2 separate regions of the Homo sapiens genome follow, and region 2 is linked to region 1. The links are contacts of gene promoters, found by promoter capture Hi-C in blood cells and fetal thymus (Javierre and others, 2016). All regions are on one chromosome and are shown on one strand. Each heading gives the region's core, a stretch centred on a gene start or on the middle of the fragment in contact. The rest is flanking DNA. Distances are from core to core; before and after follow the strand shown.

Region 1 (3,948 bases), core at 485-2,984:
CGTATGCCCATGTCGGTTTGACACTTCCAAATCAGCTTTGTGTTCTACAAGGTACTTCACTATTTCCAAATGGCCATCGAAACACGCAGCTCGAAGAGGAGTTGAATTGGTTAAAGTCGTGTTGTTGACAGATGCTCCATGATTTAACAAGGACTGGACCACCTTCAGATGTCCTGCTGCAGAAGCGGCCCATAAAGGGGGAGCCCCCTCAATGGTTTCGCCATCAAAATTGACGGAGCCCCCAACTTCTATGGAGGCACTGCATTGCTCTAGGAGGAATTCCACCATGTCAAGGTGCCCATACCTGGCGGCCATCAAGAGTGGCGTGGCCCCATTTGTTTTTTCAGAGATCAAGGAGGAAACCTCCTCTTTGGATTTGCTTGCCAACAATTTGGTGAGAAGCCGGAGTTTGCCATCCCGAGCTGCGTTAAATACTGCTGTCTTTAGATCCATTTATGTCCAGTTGAGAGGCTGTGCTTTATTTATCTTTCAAAGCAGAGCTCCAGTTTAACTCTATCGACACAGGCAAGAGTCACAGGAACCAAAGTCCAATGTTAATTGCTGCACCCCAGAACGGATACACAACCACGAAGAGTATGTTCCGTCCTACTGCTTTCCAACATCTGACAACCAGGGCACCAAACTAGAGAAAGAAAAAAAAAGTAGCAGCATTTAATTTTCTATAGAAGAAGGCAAAACACTTCTTAATTTCCACTTCTGTGGGAAGAAAGGAATAAAAGCTATACTTCAGGCACTACTCCATCCCACACACCCCCCCCACCCCCAAAGAAAAGGTGGTAAAGAAAAATACAGAAGGATACACAGAGACCCAAATGTTCTGGTCGCAGGCAGTCTCCTCCATGTGCGGAAAATTTAAACACTACAGGCAGCCCGTTTTCTCGCCTCCAGCTCTAACCAGCCAAGCTTTGTTCTAGTTTTGCTTTGCACACGCCCAGGGAGAGTACAACCGAAAGAGGCAGGAGACTCGGGTTCAGAAATGTTTCTCTTTCTTGCAACTGCAGGAGAGCTGGCCAAGGGCGCCAGGCTGGAAGGCCTGAGGCCGGGTTTCGAGAAAGAACAAAAAGGTCGGACACACCAAACCCCGGCTAAGGCCAAAACTGTGCCCCGAAAGATTCTCTTTCCTTTAAAACTACTCACGGCTCTCAGGAAATCCGCCTGCCTTTTAGTCATTAACTTCGCCCGCCCCATTTCGATCACCCCCCACCCCCCGCCAAGGGATGATCCGCAGGTTCCTCAAACCACAGTCGCCCCAACACAACCTTCCCCTCTCCCTGTTCCAGACAACGGCAGCCCCCTCCCAATCTCCTCCATCGACCACAACCCCCTCCCGATGGGCCAAGCTGTGGCCTCCAGCCCGCTGCCCGCCTTCGGCTCCCCCGGCGCCCTCCTTCCCGCCCAGGCCTTCCGCGGGCACCTCAGGCCCCGGCCCGAGCCCTGGCAGGCCGCTGCCGCCGCCACTACCTGCCCGGGGACTAGTCCTCCCCGCCGCCGCTGGTCACTCGGGCTTTGTCCGTCCCCTTCAAAGGGAAACCGTTGTCCCCACCGCCGCCCGGGCCGCCCTGCTCCGCCTGCGGCCGCACAGCTCCTCCATGCTCCGCGCCCCAAAGGAATGAATCCGGCCGCGCTGTTCGCCACGCCCCGCCACCCGAGCTGCCTCCCGCCCTTAGTCGGCTCGGACTGCAGCGGCTGCAGCGACTGCTGCGACGGATGGTGTAATGGGCTGCGAGCCGGGGGCCGGACAAGCCTGAGCGTCACATCACTGACTGTGCCGCCACGCCATTGGGCCGGGGGAGGGCGGCGGCCGCGGCCAGCAACAGCCTAGGCGCGGGGCGGGGCGTCGCGGCCGGGGTGGGGCGACGGGGAGGGGGCGGGGCCTGAACTACTGGGAGGACGTGCCTGCGTGCAACGCGCTGGGGGGCGGGGCGCTGCGAGGGGGCGGATCTGTGCCCATCGAAGCGGCCCGAGGCAGCTCGAGTTCTGAGATCTCGCTGGCTCTTCTCCTCTCGGATTTTCGGGGTGCTCCCTTAGGGAATCTTTCGGTCCCATCTCAGAGACCCCAGAAGGGAAGTGTATTAGTGCGTTTTCACGCTGCTGATAAAGACATACCCGAGATTGGGTAATTTATAAAGATAAAAAGATTTAATGCACTCAGAGTTCCACGTGGCTGGGGAGGCCTCACAATCAAGCCAGAAGGGGAAAGGCACGTCTTACATGGCAGCAGGCAAGAGAGGAAAATCAGAGCCAAGGAAAAAGGGAAACCCCATATAAAACAATCAGCTCTCCTGAGACGTACTCACTACCACCAGAGCAGCATGGGGGAAACAGCCTTCTTGATTCAATTATCTCCCACTAGGTCCCTCCCACAATATGTGGGAATCATGGGAGCTAAAATTCAAATTTGGGTGCGGACCAGTATTACCCTCACACACGTGAAGTCTCTCGGACTAGTCTTCCGTCCTTACTTTGGTGGGCCCTGGAAATTACCAAGCTCGTAATTACACCTCAGAACACACACGGAGGAAACTGAAATTTCAGAAAATGTGATTAGTTTTGGAGGCTGTCAAACTGACTCTCTTTCTAAAGTAGCCTCTAAAAAGCATAAAGGCTACGAGGAATGGTAAACCCTAAGAGCAATGTAAAGTCAATGAGGTCAGGTTCTTGAGCTCTGAGTAATAAATCGGGAACTAAAGCTTAAAAGGTTATATATATGAATGAAAAGAATTACTTCTTCATATAGTAGTTGATAAACCTCTGGAATTTGATGCTAAAACCTACGTTGCATTAAACTAGGATGAAAAAGTTTAAATGTGTTTGGGAAATAACGCCCATAATGAATCCTGATGAGAAAACAGAATTTTTGAAAATGGACCTTCAATCACTTTGTTTGAGGGAACTTAAGCTCACATAATTCCTTAGTACCACTAGGAGAAATAGAATATTACAGTAGGCAGTCTGACCCTCAGCATATGTAATCCATAACGTTATGTTAGAAGTCATGCAGCACTAAAAACATTTATAAAAAATCACAACTTCATTTTTGTATATTGTAGTGTTGTTCAGAAGTTTATGTAGTTTTGCATAATTGAAATAATTTTCATACAACTATATATTTTGCTTTTCCTTTCTATACTCTAAACGTTTCTTATGTTTTTACAGTCTTAATAATTTTTAAGTATAGCATAGTATTTCCCTTAGGTAGTCAGTATCAGACTACACTCAACATCAGATTCCCAAAACTGAAGTTAAGGTAATTGCCACTGAGAAGAAAATATAAAAGAATAGAGTATAAAGGATAAGATTGACCATCCATAAAAATTAACCAGCCAAGAGGACTGGCTGTTTTATCCCCAGCATATGTCACAGTTCTATACTCTCCCAGGGTACAGATAACAGTGTACAGTGTCCCAACCAAGGCCTAACCTGAGCTGACCTGTCTCTCTCACCTAATTCAATAAGATGTAAACATTCACATCAGCCATCTTCAAACTGAGCTCTGTATCCCTCATGGGATTGTTAAGGGATAGACGGACACTTAGTTTAAAGGCTACCAATTTCTGCTGTGGCTCACACCTGTAATCCCAGAACTTTCGGAGGCTGAGACAGGCAGATTGCTTGAACCCAAGAGGTCGAGACCAGCCTGGACAACATGGTGAAATCCCAACTCCACACACACGCACACACACATGCACGCACACGCACACACACACAAAAAATTAGTCAGGCATGGCATGCAGGAGGCTGAGGTGGCAGGATCACCTGAGCTGAGCTGGGGAGATCAAGGCTATAGTGAGCCATGATCACACCACTGTGCTGCAGCCTGGGCCACAGAAGGAAACTCTGTCAAAAAAAAAAAAAAAAAAAGGCTACCAGTTTCTGAATCTTCAATTTACACCTACGTTCTTTCCTAAAATTGATCTGCTGGTAAAG
Region 2 (3,948 bases), core at 829-3,328, about 11 Mb after region 1:
CCCTTTGGTAGTGCGAGGTTTTCTTCAGTGTTTCCTGACTCAGTCTGGATAATGATTCTCAAATTGTCTGGTTTCGTCTGTTGAATACACGCGGATGTTTCCACAGCCCCTTCTAGTCCTGAGTCCCATGACTTAAGTTTAGCCACAAGTACTAGTTAAAAGTGTCCACTGTGACCAGAGGGACACAAATGTCTGACTGTGCTGAATGTGTTTCTCTGGCTTCCTAATGCAGTGGTTGAGAGTGATCTTCAGATGACCTGTTTTTTTATCTAGTTTCACAAACAGTCCCAGATCACTTGTTTTTCTCTTCTGATTTTCTCTCCATTGTCCACATTTAGGCCAAGGAGCCTCCCTCTCACACTGCCCTTTAGCGAGCAGTGTGACTGTGACCCTGGCAGTTAGTTCATTCTCTTCCTAGGACTGGGGTCATGACCCAGCCTTCCTCTTCACTGCCAGCTTTCACTCCCTTGTTACGCTGCCTCTTCCAACCAGCAGATGCCAGGAAGGGACTCAACCCAAGCTCTTTCTGGGATCATAGGGTTTTCACAGAATTTTCCTATGAACTGTTTTCCCAGCTACTGAATCAGATCATTTCTCTTTAAAAAATTTTTGTCTTGCTAAGAGGAAAATTGTTATGAAATTTGAACTCGGAAAAAAAAAATCAAGATCTGCAAACATTCATATTATGTCATAAAAGAAATAGTGAGCCTGGGTTCTATCCCGAGACATGTTGCATTTCATTACCAGGAAAAGTAATGCGTATTATTACAATCCTTCTGGGAGGGGTCCTTCCCTGGAGAAAGAAGGGCGTGGGTGCTAGAGGTGAATGCTTTGGGTCACTCAGGCAGACCTTATACCAGAAATCCCAGAGGGGACCTGAAGCTGGGCCCTTACCGGACCTTACAGCTGGGGAACACTGGGGACCCCACTGGGAGAAACCGACAGGGGCAGGGTCTGGAAACGCAGTGCTGCTCTGACATGTGGGGAGTACACACCAGCACGTGTTGGTCTCTGACACACGGGACACTTTCACTCTCACATAGGAAGGCAGAAAAGCAGCATAAGACCCATCAAGAGGAAGCAGGGTGAAAGGAAAGGGGGCAAACATTTATTGAATGTTCACTCATGCTTGAGTTGTCACATCAAACATTACCTTACAGCTCACAATACTGCATTATTAGTATTGTCCTTGTTTTGTAGATGGGATAACAGGCCCACAGGTTGTCATTTATTCACTTGTTCATTCCTTCACCAACCATTCACTGGGAGATTTAGTTTTGCCAGGCGCTACTGAGCAAGGCATCAAGAATACCAAGATGAGACAGCCAGTTCTTTTCTTGAGGAACTCAGTGTGATCACAGTTCTATTATCCTTGATGACTATGCCTATTCTGCTATCCCAGGGAGCTGTCAAAAAAAAAAATAACATAGCCAGTTTACTAATGAAAACGGTGCTATTAATTGTTGAAATGAATGGGAACAATTCCAACTGTCGGATAATCCCCAAATCCCTATTTAAAATCTCTGTTGTTTCTAATGTTCTTCAAATTAATGGCAAATGTAATAAACATTGTTTTCATGGTGAGGTTTAGAAAATGCTTTCTTGTATATTAGCTGATTTGCACCTCTCAGCGTATGAAGATGGACTTAGGAGCAGGAACAGCTCCAGCTCTTGCTCAATCTGCCTTCCTCCCACTATCGCATCGTAAGCTCTCAGATAAGGCAGAAAGCCACAGCCCTGGTAGAATGACCTTTCCTAAACTGGCTGTTTCAGGATGCACTTTCCCTGACATCAGGGAGGTAGTTAAGTGTTCTGATTTAAAACTCTCCTTTGGGGGGATAGTCACCTTTAGGTAAGCTAACACACCACCCAGCAAGTAGGTGAAAGCAGTTTGGACCCCAGTGATGCAATGTGTTACTGTATCTAGGAAGTGTTGAAAATGACCCAGAGGGTATGCAAGTACATCCAAGTTATCCTGATGGGGGTAGGGTGGGGATGCTGTGAATAACAGGAATTATTGGAACTGGTGATTCAGCTTTGATTGGAAAGGAAATAAAATAAATGATTTTTTAATGATAGAGAATTCAATTATAGTCATGGGTTATGTCCCAAATTTATACTTTCCCACATAGATGGGTCTTCTCCATAGATAGACTTCACGTAGAAAGAATAAACAGCACATTGTTTTTGCCTTTGAACTAGGTCTGTGAATGGAAAACCCTTGATAAGAGAAGTAGTTAATGACACTAAGTTGCTGTCACTTAGTGATGTAAGTCTAAAAAAGCTAACATTCCTGCATCTCAGTTTCCTTATCTGTAAATTGGAACTAAAGATCCTGTTACAAAGAGTTGATAGTGGAATAAATGAGGCCATGTAAGATGGTCATACCAATATAGTAGGTTGTAAAGAAATAGGAATTTAAAACTAATTAACTTAAAATTTTTTGATCACGGGAATTAAGATGGGAAGTAAGGTGAGGCTGTCCTGTTATAAAATGGCAGGGCTGTTAATTATTGTTGGCTTAAGTAAGTCTATTAGCAAAAATAGTGCCAGTCAGAATTAACATTTCTCCTGGGTTAAGTCAACTGAGTGGTTAAACAAGGAAGGCCATTGAGAACACTGGAAACACCACATTTTACTCATTTTATTAATAAATATTAATATTAATTAAACAAACTTTTTTTTTTTTTTTGAGAGACGGAGTCTCACTGTTGCCCAGGCTAGAGTGCAATACAGCCTCTGCCTTCCAAGTTCAAGCAATTCTCCTGTCTCAGCCTCCCAAGTAGCTGGGATTACAGGTGTGCGCCACCATTCCCAGCTAATTTTTGTATTTCTAGTAGAGATGGGGTTTCACCATATTGGCCAGGCTGGTCTCTAACTCCTGACTTCAAGTGATCTGCCCACCTTGGCCTCCCAAAGTGCTGGGACTACAGGCATGAGCCACTGTGCCTGGCCCACAACAAACATTGATTAATCACTTACTAAGTTGCATGCTGTGCACTGGCAATACAATGGTGAGCGAAAAGAAATTTCTGCCTGACCCTGGTTGGGGTGGGGGTGGGGGGCATCAATCAAATATTCACACCGATGTGTAGAACAACAACTGTGGTCAACTGCTGTTATAAAAGGCAGGCACCACACGGCACGCTTCAGGAGCACTGGTCTTTTATGGGAAATGGTCATTAGGAAAGAATTGTCTGGTAGGAGGCTGAGTTTCAAAGGTGAAGTTCTCGCCTCCGCAGTCATGACAACAGCTCCAAGGTTGGGGACGTTAAGGGGGAGGTTCAAATTCTTTGACTTCTCGTTAAGACGATTTGAGCTTATTAAAAACTGGCCATGATCTCTCAGAGCATTAGCTAAGGGATACAGCTGGTGATCCTGATAGGGCATTTTGCTCTAACCTTGGAAGAATCCGTCTAGACTCCAGCCAGAACTTGATTGCAGACAGAACAGTGGAGAAAGAGGGGCCACAGTCCTGCAGCCTCAGTCTGTTTCCCTGGTGTTCCTGAGTGGTCCTGGGTACTCACAGGCACCCGAACTCAAGGGTCCAGGTCAGTCCAGAGTGCTTTCATGGAAACGGCAGGCTATGTGTGCCGAGAATGTCGCTCAGCCAATTGCATGGAATTCAGAGTTCCCCTGAGGTTCCCTGAGACTTGGTTCTCCCTGCTCTGATGGGATTTGGGATAGAAAGTGGGAGTGCCTGGTTAATTTGGAGTTTGAGGGCCTAGTGCTTTCAAAGAGAGATCCCCACCTGGGAGAATCATAACTCACATCCTCTTCCACCCTATACCTACCCGGTTTGGACAAGTAAAAGCAACACTTAAATAAGTGGCAAAATCTGCTTTTTTCCTGTTGCAAATTGAATATTATATGAGGGACAATGACTATTCCCAGCTTGATGCTTTGGAAAGTGCGTTTGGATTTTTCCATTTTAGACAAATGTCAGCT

The links. Contacts are between HindIII fragments. The CHiCAGO score rates a contact against its expected background, and 5 or more counts as called.
Region 2: a contact is called between a fragment that was not itself captured here and the fragment with the promoter of FEM1C in region 1, in 1 of 17 cell types (non-activated CD4 T cells). The highest score is 8.0, in non-activated CD4 T cells.

Annotation. Positions count from the first base shown.
Region 1 is chr5:115,543,041-115,546,988 of GRCh38, forward strand. FEM1C (fem-1 homolog C) reads right to left here and starts at 1,735. Exons shown (of 3, transcript NM_020177.3): 1 at 1,483-1,735; 2 at 1-643. The coding sequence starts at 453. RefSeq lists enhancers at 1,284-2,050, 1,592-1,886 and silencers at 1,316-1,485, 1,536-1,585, 1,686-2,025. The HindIII fragment of the contact is 1,787 bases long and covers 923-2,709 here.
Region 2 is chr5:126,847,569-126,851,516 of GRCh38, forward strand. No RefSeq gene overlaps it. Among named protein-coding and RNA genes, the nearest start is that of LMNB1, 72 kb to the left of the region's middle. RefSeq lists an enhancer at 1-595. The HindIII fragment of the contact is 7,004 bases long and covers 1-3,948 here.